2 separate regions of the Homo sapiens genome follow, and region 2 is linked to region 1. Evidence: promoter capture Hi-C in 16 types of primary human blood cells and fetal thymus (Javierre and others, 2016). All regions are on one chromosome and are shown on one strand. The core of a region is centred on a gene start or on the middle of the fragment in contact, and the rest is flanking DNA. Distances in the headings are between cores, read along the strand shown.

The links. Contacts are between HindIII fragments. The CHiCAGO score rates a contact against its expected background, and 5 or more counts as called.
Region 2: a fragment that was not itself captured here is called in contact with the fragment with the promoter of SC5D in region 1 in 9 of 17 cell types (non-activated CD4 T cells, neutrophils, activated CD4 T cells and 6 more); the score reaches 13.1 in non-activated CD4 T cells.

Annotation. Positions count from the first base shown.
Region 1 is chr11:121,287,122-121,294,082 of GRCh38, reverse strand. SC5D (sterol-C5-desaturase) reads right to left here and starts at 1,312. Exons shown (of 5, transcript NM_006918.5): 1 at 1,267-1,312. RefSeq lists a silencer at 1,301-1,350 and an enhancer at 1,521-1,570. The HindIII fragment of the contact is 7,130 bases long and covers 1-2,446 here.
Region 2 is chr11:121,544,111-121,551,322 of GRCh38, reverse strand. It overlaps SORL1 (sortilin related receptor 1), which reads right to left. Exons shown (of 48, transcript NM_003105.6): 14 at 5,894-6,080; 15 at 1,235-1,363; 16 at 653-738. Among named protein-coding and RNA genes, the nearest start is that of SORL1-AS1, 95 kb to the right of the region's middle. RefSeq lists an enhancer at 1-311. The HindIII fragment of the contact is 3,679 bases long and covers 1-3,458 here.

The sequences.
Region 1 (6,961 bases), core at 63-2,562:
AAGTATAGAAAATGATAGCTAATATTTATTGAGAACCAGGTATTATTTTTGTATAACCTCATCTAATCCCTATACCTCTATGAGATAGGTACTTCTATGCTCCCCACTTTATAGATAGGGAAACTGAGGTCAGAGTATTTAAATAACTTGTTCAGTAGCAAGCAACAATAACAGAAAAAACCAGCTGGGATGTACATTCCACAACCTTTCTCTTTGCTACCACGTTATGTTATCTCTCAAGATGTTTTATATGCAGATGAGGGATTCTGAGTACCACCCCATGCTAATTAATTACATTACATAACGAATGGAAAAGCACTCTGTAAATGATCAAGGATCAGTTATTATTTACTAGGTATCAATCATTAGAAACTTTAAAAAATGATAGTGATATAAAGACAAATAACTTCCAGAGGGTTTCCTCTAAAAGTACCGAGCTGCCACAAACTTTCCAGTTTGGAAACTCTATGTACTGAGGTCTTGTTTTCTTCACTTACACCACCTCCAAATCTACTCTGCTGTAACACAGGGATGTCAGTATACATTATTTTTCCTTTTATGATGCAAAAGGAACAGATTATTTCCCTTTTCCTTTCAGTCTCCTCAGCCCCAGATTGCTGTCCCTTCATTCTAATTACGCCGCAGCAACAGAGGCTTGCAATGGTCAGGAGTTCTGATACCGACCAGTTCTTCAGCCTGATTCTTCTGGCCTTTAAAAGAAAAAAACCCTCCCAGAACGAAGGGAAAAGTAAAGCATTCGTGTTCAGCAGCCAGACCAGAATTCCCTTGAGTAAGAGATCTGCAACACCCAACATCAAACACTGCATTTTCTTTAAGCCCGTCCACGGTCGGCTCCTTCAAGTCCAGGCCTCCCTATCGGCCCCGCGATCCCTCCCAGCGCGAGCGGAAGGCCCCTCCGCCCGGACTCCCAGGTGGCGCAGCCCTCCAGGCCCCGAGGTCCCCCGGCCCAGCCCTCGCCGCCAGTCTTCGGGATGCCAGGCTACCTGCCAGCCTCTCCTCTCACTCGGCGCAGGACTCGGATCCGTATGCTACCGCGATCCTACCATCCGCCCAACGCCTAGCACCCAGAGGGCACTCGCTAACCAACCGCGGCGCGGAGAAAAGCCGTGCTGCGAGGACACCTTCCGCCTCGCCCACCCGAGTCCCAGGCGCTGAAGTCTCTCCATCTTCTTTTATTCCATCGCCCCCCGGCCCAGCCCGCTCAGGTGTATTCCGCTTCCTTCCCCGCCCACCCACCGTCCCCACCTGGAGGTGGTCCGCCGCCGCTCCGCACGCCACTGCTCTGCAAACTGTCCTAGCAGCTGGGCAGCCAGCAAGCGGGCCGGGAGGCTGGAGCGGCCAGCCAATCAGCGACCGGCGCCATAAGCTGATATGACGGCAGATCGCGCGAAGGGCCTGCGCGCAGCTCTCCGCGGTCACGTGGGCGCCGCGCGCTCGGCCACGCCCCCTTTGTCCTCTGACTAAGGGGAGGGCGGGCGCCCCATCCGAGTACCTTTGCGGTGGAGGATGCGGTTTCGGGTTTTGCGTTTGTTTCTTTGCTTTCTTTTTAAACTAGCTCTTGTGTCATTCATGGTGGTACCAGGCAGGTTTACGGTGTTTATACAAACATTCCTAGAACGGGTGCCCTGCGTTGAGGGAAATAGACGACACTTCCTTTGACGCGAATGTCTGGGTCGTTTTCTCCCTCAAGGGAGGAGGTGCAGATGTTCCCAAACAGGTGCTCAAGGTTTTAAGACGTAGTCCCCCCGATTTTCTAGCGCTGAATGGCTGGAGGCTCCGCGAGCCGGTGTATGTAGGGGTCTAAATGGTGACAAGATGAGGGTAAACATGGACAGAAACCTTTTCACGATACAAGTTGTTGAAAACCAAGGTTAACGCAGATCTAATTGGCTTTGATTTGCTACACATGAATCGAGCAGCTCCGATTTCCTGAAACAGAGCTGAGCAGAGGAGGGTGGCTTCACAGGCAGAAGAGGACGGAGGAAAGCAGAAATAAGGAACCAAAAGATCTGTCGTTTCAGAGTGACTTTCCTTAAACAGAGATTAAAACAGAGGGGACTGACTTGTGATACCAGCTCAGCAACTTCAAAGTGGCAAACTGGGCCACTTTACCTATTACATAAATAATATGGGGAATACATGACAGAAATGAGGGATTTTTAAGGGAAAAAAATAACATGATTCGATCTGCCTTCAAAAGACTTTTCCGGTAGTTAAACTTCAAATGTACATAGGATACTGGACAAAGTTCAAATGAATTTAAAATAGTGTAGGTGGTTTTTTTAAAAAAGACTCATTATATAAATAAAAATAAATTTTAAAAAGTTTTGAGTGTCTACTTCGTTTAACACATCGTACTGAACACCGGGAATGGAAAGAGATGTTACAATAATGACAAAGACATGGTTCCCAACCTTAAAAAGCTTATGTGCTGTGGGAGAAATGGGCATGTATAAATAACTATGTTGCTTATTACAAGGACAGGAAATAAACAGTAATTGGTGGTATAGGCTGAGCACAGAGACAAAATGGCTATTCTGATGAGGGAAATTAGGGAAGGAACATTGTTTTGCCCAATGAAATGATTTGAATGGACACTTTAAAATGTTATTGAGCATAGATGATAAAACATTTATTAAACGAATAAAAGCTCAAAAGTGAAATGTTATAAGCAAACATCAAATATCCTGAATCTCTAGAATTTTATTGTTGAATATGCCTTAGCTATTACAAGTGGTCTTTATTCTTGGTGACTTAGGGATTCCCAAGAAATTTGCAATCACTCCTGACAACTCAAAGTAGTAATAAGTTAACCTCAAGAGAACAATCTTGTTTAAAAATAAATTTAAGTGTATTTTTTAATTATTATTTAAGTTCTGGGATACATGTGCAGAACGTGCAGGTTTGTTACATAGGTATACATGTGCCATGGTGGCTTGCTGCACCTTCCAACCCGTCATCTAGGTTTTAAGCCCTGCATGCATTAGTTATTTGTCCTAATGTTCTCCCTCCCCTTGCCCTCCACCCCCTGACAGGCCCCGGTGTGTGATGTTTCCCTCCCTGTGTCCATGTGTTCTCATTGTTCAACTCCCACAGTTGAACAACTCCCACATACTCAATGAGAATATGTGGTGTTTGGTTTTTTGTTCTGTGTTATTTTGCTGAGAATGATGGCTTCCGGCTTCATCCATGTCCCTGCAAAAGACATGAACTCATTCTTTTTTTTATGGCTGCATAGTATTCCGTGGTGTATAAGTGTATTAATAGCACATCCTGGGGTGCAGCATTCCTACATGTCTTTTCTATCCAGGCACACTGATGGATCAGGGTAATTTATTTATTCATTGTTTGCAAGGGTCTATGGTACCAACCAGCCAGTACCAAGGAATTCAGAGATAAGCCACAATACCTGCCTATGTGTCTGGATGGAACATGAACATGGAAACAAACCATTTAATCATTAAATTACTCAATTTATTTACTCAATAAATCATTATGTAATGGTGATAAGTGTCAGGCACTGTCATATGCACAGGAGATATACTGATAATCAAAACAAAGTCTGCTCTAATGAAGCTTACACACTAGTAAGGAGACAGAAAACTGATAATAAATAAATAGATATATAATACAATGTCGGACAGTGCTATGAAGAAAAAGAAAATGGGGTAAGAGAATCAAAATTAACGGAAGCTGTTAACTTCAGACAGCATGGTCAGTCAGTTTCTCTGAGAGGGCTACATTTGACCTGAACAGAGTTAGAAGTCCTCATTCACTTGGAAGATTCTAAACTGAGATTGAGTTTGAATTTTTTTCAATGAAATGTTGCCTTTCAATGCATCAATAATTTATCAGCCCACGTTCATTATATAACATTATACTTTAATGAGAACACTAAGCACTAAACTGTTTAAAGACCTTTGTCTTTACAAAGGTACTACAAAGGAAACTACAAAGACTGTAGTTTCTGAAGTTAGGAAATGAAGACCCTTTCTTTCTGCATTCGTCCGTTTGCATTGCTATAAAGGAATACCTGATACTGGGTAATTTACAAAGAAAAGAGGTTTATTTTGGCTCACAGTTTTGCAGGCTGTACAGGAAGTGTGGTGCTGGTATCTGGTTCTGGTGAGAGGACCTCAGGAAGCTTACAATCCTGGTGGAAGGCAAAGGGGGAGCAGGCCTATCGCATGAAGAGAGGGAGCAAGAGAGAGGGAGGAGGCTCTCTCTTTTAAACTCAGGCTCTTTTAAACAGCCAGATCTCATGTGAACTCATAGAGTGAGAACTCACTTTACTGTGAGGACAGCACCAGGACATTCATGAGGGATCTGCCCCCAACACCCAAACACCTCCCACTCAGTCCACCTCCAACATTGGAGGTCGCATTTCACCACGTGATTTGGAGGGGAGGAAACATCCAAATCATGTCACTTTCTAACTGGTTTTCAGATGTGTAAAACAGAACAGCCTTCTTAATGAAATGTTGTCACTGAATGCATCAGTAATGTATCAACCTCTCTTCATTACATCACACTGGACTGTACTAAGAACACTAGGCACCAAGCTATTTAGAGTGAATGTTTCTGATGAACTCGTTGGGCCACTGGCTCACAAGCATCTGTTTGCATGAATTTATTTTTTAGGGAGAAGAGAATCTTCATGAAAAAGGTGGATGCACAAGTGTCCAAAAGTAGATTACAGGAAGAGAAAGTGTTTATTCCTTAACCTGGCCCCATGGATTCTATTTTAATTTATAGTATGATACTTTAAACTACAAATAAAATCTTAAACCCCCCAGCAGACTGAACAGACCACCTCTTGGCCAAAGGGATTCCAGAAAAGCCTTAAAAACTTAGTTCCCAGCCATGATGAGATGAGGTCAGACAGGCCTCATTATACCCCCTCCCTTTTTAGACACGACTGACCGGCATTGATGTTAAAACAGAAATCATAAAACTGGCAGAACAGATTCTTTGTGGCGATACAATACCAAATTATAAATAGGACCTAAGGTCGTGCCAGGCGAGGGTTAAGTCATGTACCCTACACGTAAAGAATAAACTATGTTCTAACTGTCACAAGATTTTTCTTTTTCTCTAGCAGCTAAACAAACACTGGCCTTCAGATAAGCAATATTAAAACAATTTGCAGCTCCACCAGACGCTAACTGACCCCCTATTCCACAAGCCACAACTACGGCTTTCATTGGATAAAGACTGGTTTTAATAACTTTCTCCTGATAAGAATACCACTGACCCATGGGCTGGTTCTGATCAGTTTACAGAAGTTGCACATCTATATGCCTTCATGTCCTGAAAAAACATTTTGACATATAGGGCCTAATTGTAATATATTTAAATGTTAACTCTCCATCCTAAAGTGAACATGGTCATATGTTACATGCATGTTTGTTCAATATGCATGTCAGGATCAGCTTCATGAATATTCATAGCTCCTCCTGTAAAACATGCATGTTTAGCCAACCTGTTCAGCATAAAGCTCCTACTCCAGCCCCTCCTTCTTCAAAGTGCCTATCTCTGGTCTCGGCTGGAGGCACACTTCCCAGCCTGTGGGTTGGTCACCTTGCAGGCTGCAACACTTTATAAGAAATAAATTCTTCTCTCCTTTCTTAAATTTATAAATTGTATAATTTTTAAGTTAACAGTACTTAACATTTTAGTGATCATAGATCCCTCCAAAAATTAAATGACATCTATGGACTCTGTCCCCAGAAAATACATATGTGCATACAGTAGTTTTTCTAACCATCTACTTAATATTCTTGATTCCCTTTCTGAAATATGCCAACTGATTCTCATAAAATACTGAAGACTCATAGCTAGTAGCCTTCACTTTAGTTTACTCCTCCACATCTGCTTCCACTAGCTGAGTGGAATACTCCCCAAGAGTCAGTTATGTTTGTTCCCAAACTTCATTTCCATTGTATGCCTCATACGTATATAATTTAATTGAATTGCATGAACTGATAAAATTTGAGTCTGCAAAGAAATAATTTTCTATGAAAATCAAGAAAATGAGTGCTAATAAAAATAGCCATTGTCAGACACTTAGGTGGTTTCCATATCTTGGTTACTATGAATATGCTGCAATAAACATGGAAGCACAGAGTATCTTTTCAGCATACTGATTTCATTTCCTGTGGATATAATACCCAGTATTGGGATTGCCGGATCATATTGTAGTTCTATTTTTAATTTTTTTAGGAACCTCCATATTGTTTTCCATAATGGTTGTACTAATTAACATTCCCACCAACAGTATACAAGGGCTTCCTTTTCTCCACACCCTCCCCAACACTTGTCATCTTTCACCTATTCTATCATAGCCATCTAAATAGGTGTGAAGTAATGTCTCACTATGGCTTTGATTTGCATTTCCCTAATGATTAATGATGCTGAGCACCTTTTCATATACCTGTTGGCCATTTGTACCATTTGCATGTCTTCTCTGGGAAAATGTTCACATCCTTTGCCCATTTCTCACCTGGGCTATTTGGCTGCTTTTAGTTTGTTTTGCTATTGAATTGTACGAGTTCTACAATGAACTGAATGTTTATGTCTCCCCCAAATTCATATGTTGAAATCTAAGCTGCCAAAGTGATGTTACTAGGAGGTGGGCCTTTGGGGAGTGTTGAGGTTATGAAGATGAAGCGGTCATAAGTTGTAGTAGTGCCCTTATAAAAGAGACCCCAGAGATCCCTTGCCCTGCTGCCATGTGAGTTTACAGTGAGAAGACAGCCATCTGTAAGGACGCAAGCCCTTACCAGACACCAAATCTGGTGGCATCTTAGACACCTTATAGCAGCCCAGAGGGGCTAAGACAGTTTCTTATATATTTTGGATATTAAGCCTTTATCAGACATACGGTTTGCAAATATTTTCTCCCATTCTGTAGGTTGCCATTTCATTTTGTTAACTGCTT
Region 2 (7,212 bases), core at 370-2,869, 260 kb before region 1:
ATGATATTTATTTGCCATTTGGGCAATGTCCAATGAAGAGCATGGGGCTTAGAGTCTGAATTTCAACTTTGTCACTTACTAGATGTGTGACCTTAAGCCATTTAACCTCCTCTGAACATGCTTCCTCGTGAAAAAGTAAAAAACAAAATTGATAATATCTGCTTCCCTGAGTTGTTAAAAGGGTTAAACTGGCAACACATAAAAAGTACACTGAAATCTATAAAATTCCATTAAAATTTTAGTTACAGTTAGTTTTATTATAAAATTAACATAGACTACTTAGCTACTTCCTAAGAAGTCACACACCTCTTTATACTCAACTTTGACAAACAGATTAAGGAACACACAAAAGCCTGTGGGGATCTTTCTACCCCAGTGGATGCTGAATAAATATTTTTCAATTAACAAAGGGATTTCCCTCAAAGAAACTGAGCTGACACAAAGTACTTTCCATTCCTAAAAACGGGTATGGCTATGTACAAGTTCAGTGTGGAAACCAACCTTAGGGAAAAGAGGAAGCCCTGTGATGCTTGTGACGGCCATTGTTTTTCTCCACTCAATTAAAGGAGCCACAAGCCCGGACTTGGGTGAGATCGTGATACTGCTTCAACCATGTCTCAAGAAATGAAAGGGAAGAAACCACCTCTCTTACCTGCCAGGGGACAGGGGACCAGCTCTCCTTCCAGTCGCGCTTCAACATCTCCTCCGCTACAAGTGTCCCCAGAAATCTTCCGGTAGCTGTCACCCCACCCCAAGAGCAAGAGGTCAGAAACATGGAAGAATAGCCACAAAGGCATCCCAGCTGGGAATACACTTACTACCCACGGCCAGTAGAGTCCATCCACTCATTTCTCTTTAGAACTAGAAAGAGGATGTTCGTAGTTCTGAGTCAGTTCTCCTTATAATTAGACTAGGCAGGCCCAGACAATTTAGGGCACTGTCCTGGCCAAGATTTTTAAATATATCTCTTGAATACATTCCTCTGAAGATGTTTCCCTGCTGAAGTTGATGACTTAAGATATTCCTAGAGTTTCAGGGATGCTTACAGACTTGCAATGTGGAGGTAGGAGAGTTTACAAATACCATAATTTATAATGTTGCCCAAACTACTTGCAGGCTGTTAACTTGGAATTCTAGAATTTCGAGTGTAGAGCAATCCAGACGGTCCTCTATGCTCTCTCGCTCCATGTGCGGACCGCTGAGAACCTGACAGGGCAACCTCTGTGATACATACCCTCTCGTTCTCCTGTAAGTAGAACCCACAGGGCAAGGCACAGGAGGGGAGTATGACTTTCCAGAAAATTCCGGATCTGGAACACAAACCTCTAATGACAAATCTTCACTCATCTTGAAACCGAAGTCACTAAAAAGGCAATTGGGCTTTGTTAAGGCCACGGTTTTATACATTTCAGGCATTCCTGTACCAATTCTGCTGACTTTACCTTACTACTTTTCACTTTTATTATAAGTTATTTAACATGTCCCTTTAAAGAATATTTACTTTTTATATAAAATACATCTTCAAAAGAAGATTTATATCAGAACCACAGTTGGAAAAACACAATCACATGCCATAAATAGACCAAAAAAAAAAAAAATCATCATGCCAAATCAAAACAGTATTAAATTTTAGCCAGATCCAGTTCCCAATTTAAGACTCTGGACCTGCCCTCTCTGTTAAAAGGGATTAGGCAAATGTTACAGTTACTAGCAACCAATGAGACGTTCTTTTTGACAGAATCTGAAGAAGTAAAAGAGGAATTTTAAAAGAATAACCTTTTTAAAAAATTATTTGGGGCCGGGCATGGTGGTTCACGCCTGTAATCCCAACACTTTGGGAGGCCAAGGCAGACATATTGTTTAAGCCCAGGAGCTCCAGACCAACATGGGCAACATGGTAAGACCCTGTCTCTACAAAAAAGAATAAAAAAAAATAGCCAGGTATGGTGCTGCACACCTGTGGTCCCAGCTACTTGGGAGGCTGAGGTGGGAGAATCATTTGAGCCCAGGAGGTCAAGGCTGTAGTGAGCCGTGATTGCGCCACTGCACTCCAGCCTGGGCAACAGAGCAAGCCCCTGTCTCAGAAAAAAAGAAAAAATTTGACTAGGGGTTCAATGTTATTTAAGAGTATATCCACATACTAGCTAAGTCACCCTGTACTTTGAGATACAGTAGTTAGGTTCATGAGACCTCTTGTGATCTGGAGTCACATCTGCCAAACCTCCCAGCTTGAAGGGCAGCATCCTGGAGTAGGAAGCAGGAGGCCTCAGTCGAAGACGATTCTAAAACGAGGTGACTGTACTATGAATGTTCTAAGGCCCTTCCAAACCTGTAAATTCTATAATTCAATGAATTACAGAATATATTCAAAGAATTATAGAACAGAACATATATTCCACGTTCATGTGCTCTACCAGAACACATTTATTTGCTCTATTCAATTCAACAAATATTTAGGTCCGGCATGGTAGCTCACGCCTGTAATCCCAGCATTTTGGGAGGCTGAGGCGGGTGGCTCACTTGAGGTCAGGAGTTCTAGACCAGCCTGGGCAACATGGCAAAACCCCGTCTCTACTAAAAATACAAAAATCAGTTGGGCATGGTGGCACGCACCTGTAATCCCAGCTACTCTGGAGGCTGAGGCAAGAGAATGGCTTGAACTTGGGAGGCAGAGGTTGCAGTGAGCCAAGATTGCACCACTGCACTCCAGCATGGGTGACAGAGTGAGACTCTGTCTCAGAAAAACAAAAAACAAAAAGAAAAACTCCAAATATTCATTAAACATTTCTGACACAAAAAGTATTAACAGATACACAGAGAGTGATTTGTGTGCATTATATCATAATCCACATTTAATAGTTTGTAAGAATTGTTCAAAAGGCAGCAGTTTTGTCACTGTATCAAATGTGCCTCTTTCATTACCTCAGTTCGTTATTACTGAACGGCCACTTTAAATCTTTTTAGGAACCAGATAAAGCATTAGCTAATTACTTATTTGCCTCCAATAGCAAAGCACTCTTCCTGGGCAGCTTTCTTTGACCATAGGTCATGACCTAGTGGACTCTGAGAGTACTTGGGAGGCCCAAGACTAGATTCTTCCCCTCCCAAAAAAGTGCAAAAGATTGCAAAAGGCCCCATCATACATTTAAAAGTCAATGTTGTCTCCTAAAACTTGTGTTTTAATTATATGTGTGTATGTATCTACACGTACATATGTAAGTACAGGGTCATAAGAGAAAATGTATTATTTACTAGGGGTTGCAGTCAAGAATGTGAAAGCTGTATGACTTGGCAATGTCGAGAAATATAAGAACATAAAAGAATCTACCATGGAAATCAGGAAACATGGGCCAATAGCTGGGCTTCCCAGTGTGGTCTAAAAGGACTATCAGAAATAACCTGGTGTTCAAACACAGTTGTCAACCAGTACCTGAACTAATGGAAAGATACTATAAGCTTGCTCATTCTCATCTCATTTCCTGACGTCCATCTTGGGACCATTTTCCTTCTCAGTGCCATAGTCCAATGCCATCAAACATCTCCAAGAGCCATATAGTTGGGCTGGCTGCCTTCCAGCAGCTACAGCAAGCAGAGAAACAATTGGGAGGGGTGGAGCGGGGAACAGCTGACATCCATATACCCCTTACCATTTCAGAGGGTCATCACCCCACGATCTCATTTGGCCTGCAACCCAACTCCACAAGGGGCAGAGCAGGTGGTTTTACTGGTCTACAATAAAAACACTCCACATACAAGCAGGGTGAGCATACAGCAGGTTCCAGCAAGGCAGATGGGGTGGGCATGGTAGACCAGCAGGTCCCAGGCCAGTTTACCCAGGAGGGCACACCAAGCTCCATTTCTTTTCTTGTGTGTGTGATTTTTTTTTTTTTTTTTTTTTTTTTTTTGGTGAGGGTTGGGGAAATGTAGGGCAAGAGAGAAAATTTTAATGTTATTTGTTTTTAAGCCTAAATGTCATGAAAAAAAAAAAAACCCCAAAGATTTGTTAGACTTTCTTACCTATTTTTTACTTAGTCTTAATTTTATTTTGAAGTACATATTGGGGATAGGAAGAGGGGAGAGAGAGGGCACTATGATCTTTTCAGGGATTAGGACCTCTCCAGTCTCAAGCTGGTCTGGGGAGGACTACCTGGAGCCAACAAAGCTCTCAGATTAGATTAGACTATAATGCAAAAGTGTGTAAGAAAGAGCAGAAGGCAAACAGCATGGAACTGAAGTCACCAAGAACATCAGCCAGCCCTGTGCTTTTGCTGTTAAAGAGTCTGTGTCGTTACCTTGGGAGCACACACCTTTCTAAGGAAATGACTGTCTTCTCTGTTCTAAGCCTTGCTGCTCAAAGGGCGAATGTGCAGATAAGCAGCATCCACATCTCTTGGGAGCTTGATGGAAACGCAGAGCCCCAGAACTCCTGAGGCAGAATCTGCATGTGACCAAGGCAGAATCTGCAAGTGATTCATATGCACCTTAAAGTTTCAGAAGCACTGGTTGAGAACAGAAGTGGCCAAACCTGGTTGGCCATTTTTGTAAATAGAGATTTACTGGATCACAGCCACGTTCATTCCTCTAGAGCTGCTTTCATTCACCCATGGGCACTGCCATGGGCAAAGTGAGGAGTTGTAACACAGATCATAGAAACCATATGGCCTACAAAGTCTAAAACATTTACTATATGACCATGTTCCAACCTCTGGTCTAGAATACATCAGAGGTTTCTGGCTTTAGTCAAGACAAGTACAGCTGCCCAAAGCAAAATCTAGTTCCTCTGTGCCTCAGCAACCACTGAAATATGAGTTGTGTATTTATATTAAATACCCATGGCTCTCTTGGTGCTCCTGACTAAACTACAATGATTTCATGCTGAATTACAGACTACAGTGACTGTCCAGGAGCTCTGAGATCCTCTGTACTCTGCCACTAGAATCCTCTTCCTACAGCTAAGCTCTGTTCTCATCATCAACTCTCCTCAAAAGCTCCTACAGCTAAGCTCTGTTCTCATCATCAACTCTCCTCAAAAGCCGCTGAAGGCCTCCTCCTAATTATAGAATAAGGTTCATCCCCTCTAAGGTCTTTCTCCCCTACTGTATTCTATCTTTTCAGCCTCATCTCCAATTGTCATCCCCATGTCATACACCCAACAAGGCATCCCAATTCAACTCCCAACCACACCCTGCTGCCTCTACACCTGACTGTTGCAGACACATGGTCTCAAAACACTGCTGTCTGCAAATATTGATGCTCCCTGAGAGCCCAGCTCAAACAGCACTTCTTCCAAAAATCTCCTCATTCTCCAACAGCAATCCACAGCCCTCTCCTTCCTTTCAATAGTCACAATAAAAGTACCAGTTCCTCCTCTGAGGCACTTGCTCTCTTCTATCTCCTGTGCCAATTAGCCATGCACAAATCACTTCTCCTACTTTTAGCATTCGCAGCAGTGCCTTGGATATTTTGCTTAAGGAATAATAAATGATGCAAACACACACACATATACACACACTAACATCCCCTCGTTTCAGATAAAGAAATAAATCCCCTCTAGAATAGGGTCCTAAGGAGAAGGATTAAAAACAATGAAACCTTCAGCATATTTTTGGGTTACCCTAATAGAAATAAATCCCAGAGCTATCTATTCCTGTAGAAATAGCTGCAGCTCTCCTAGACACCTCTACCGCATTACCTGGCTATAAGAACTAAAGAAAACAACTTACATGAAACATGCTTAGCACAGTTCCTGGCACATAAAAGATGCTTCACAAATACTTGTTTCCTTCTATTCCCTTCCTTTGCTCAGGGAAAGGGACCATGCCTAATCTCTTCCCCCAACACTGCTGAGTGAATAAAACACAACTCAGTCCCCAGCCATCAAAGAAGAACTGACCACTCATAGTCCTCCCGGGTGCAGGAGCAGTTGGACACGACCACCGGCCTGTCAAAGTCCTCTCCATTGAAGCATGTGGCATGGGGGGTCCGCCGTTTGAAAACAGTCTTGTGTCCCAGCAAACACTCATTCCCCCGCTCATCAGATGGTGACCACAGCTTGTAGTCATTCTCTGTGCAGGGAACTCCTAAAGAAAAAGGAACACAGCACGAAGCATTAGAGGCAGGCCCATGTAGGGTTTCCTGCTATGCCTCAAGGTGCCTGGCCTCAACCCCCACTTCCTGTCTATCTGTTGCCACCCCGCAAGCACACAGACCCTCCAATCAGCTTGTTTTGAAGCTGGGCAGCCCTATGCCAATGAAAAGGATACCTGAAACGCAGGCATCTGCCTGGAAAAGTTGGAAAGAAGCAAGCCACCTTTAGGCACTATCCAAATTTCCGAAACATTACAGAAGAGTCAGCAGTGCCCTTTAGAAATGAGTACTCAGAAGTGTTTCTCTCCTAGAGAACTAGGGAACAGCTGAATCCTTGATGAGCAATACCATTGGGGGTTAATGTTCCTGGCCTGCTTCCTCAGGCAGTGAGGGCACATCTGGTAGTGTGGCCCGAAGGCAATGGAGGGCTCGCTGGCCCTACTTGAAGGTACAGGATCTCCATGGAAAGAGGCTGGAAAATGCTAAGATACCTTGCACCATCACTCCATCTGCCACGTTCATCGAAATGTCTAAGTAGGGTGCTTTCTACAAGCATTCCAAAGTATGCCTATGTCTATGTTGGCACTTTGTGTCTCTTATATATGTGTCTTCAGTCAGATTAGATACTACCCGAAGCTGATACACAACCTTTGACTCAATGCCATGCAAATCAGTAAACTTATTAAACTCCTACAGACTGTTAGGCTATCAGGCTTTCCAGTAGGTACAATACAAATATGCACAGGGCAAGTTCTTATCTTTAAGGGCTTTATAATCTAGTCAATGGAAGGTGAAACACACCGAGTGACAGACACAAAGTTATGCATACACTTATGTTCTGGACATAGAGAAGAAGGGAGACGTCTTCTGGTTGGGATATCAGCCACAAATGTGTTGGATCCTGAGATATGAAAAGGATTTCGAGTAGGGGAGGCTGAACGGGTGGAAATGAGAAGAAACAGGGCACTCCGGGCAGCTAGAATCAGGTTAGCCAAGGCTGAGAGGTAGGAAAGGGTAAGATAAGATGGGGAAGCAGGGAGAGGATGCTGAAGAGTTTCACTTCTCCCTGCATACTTATGCATCCTGTATCTAGATTAGCAGATCACAACTAGATCCTAGATGGCT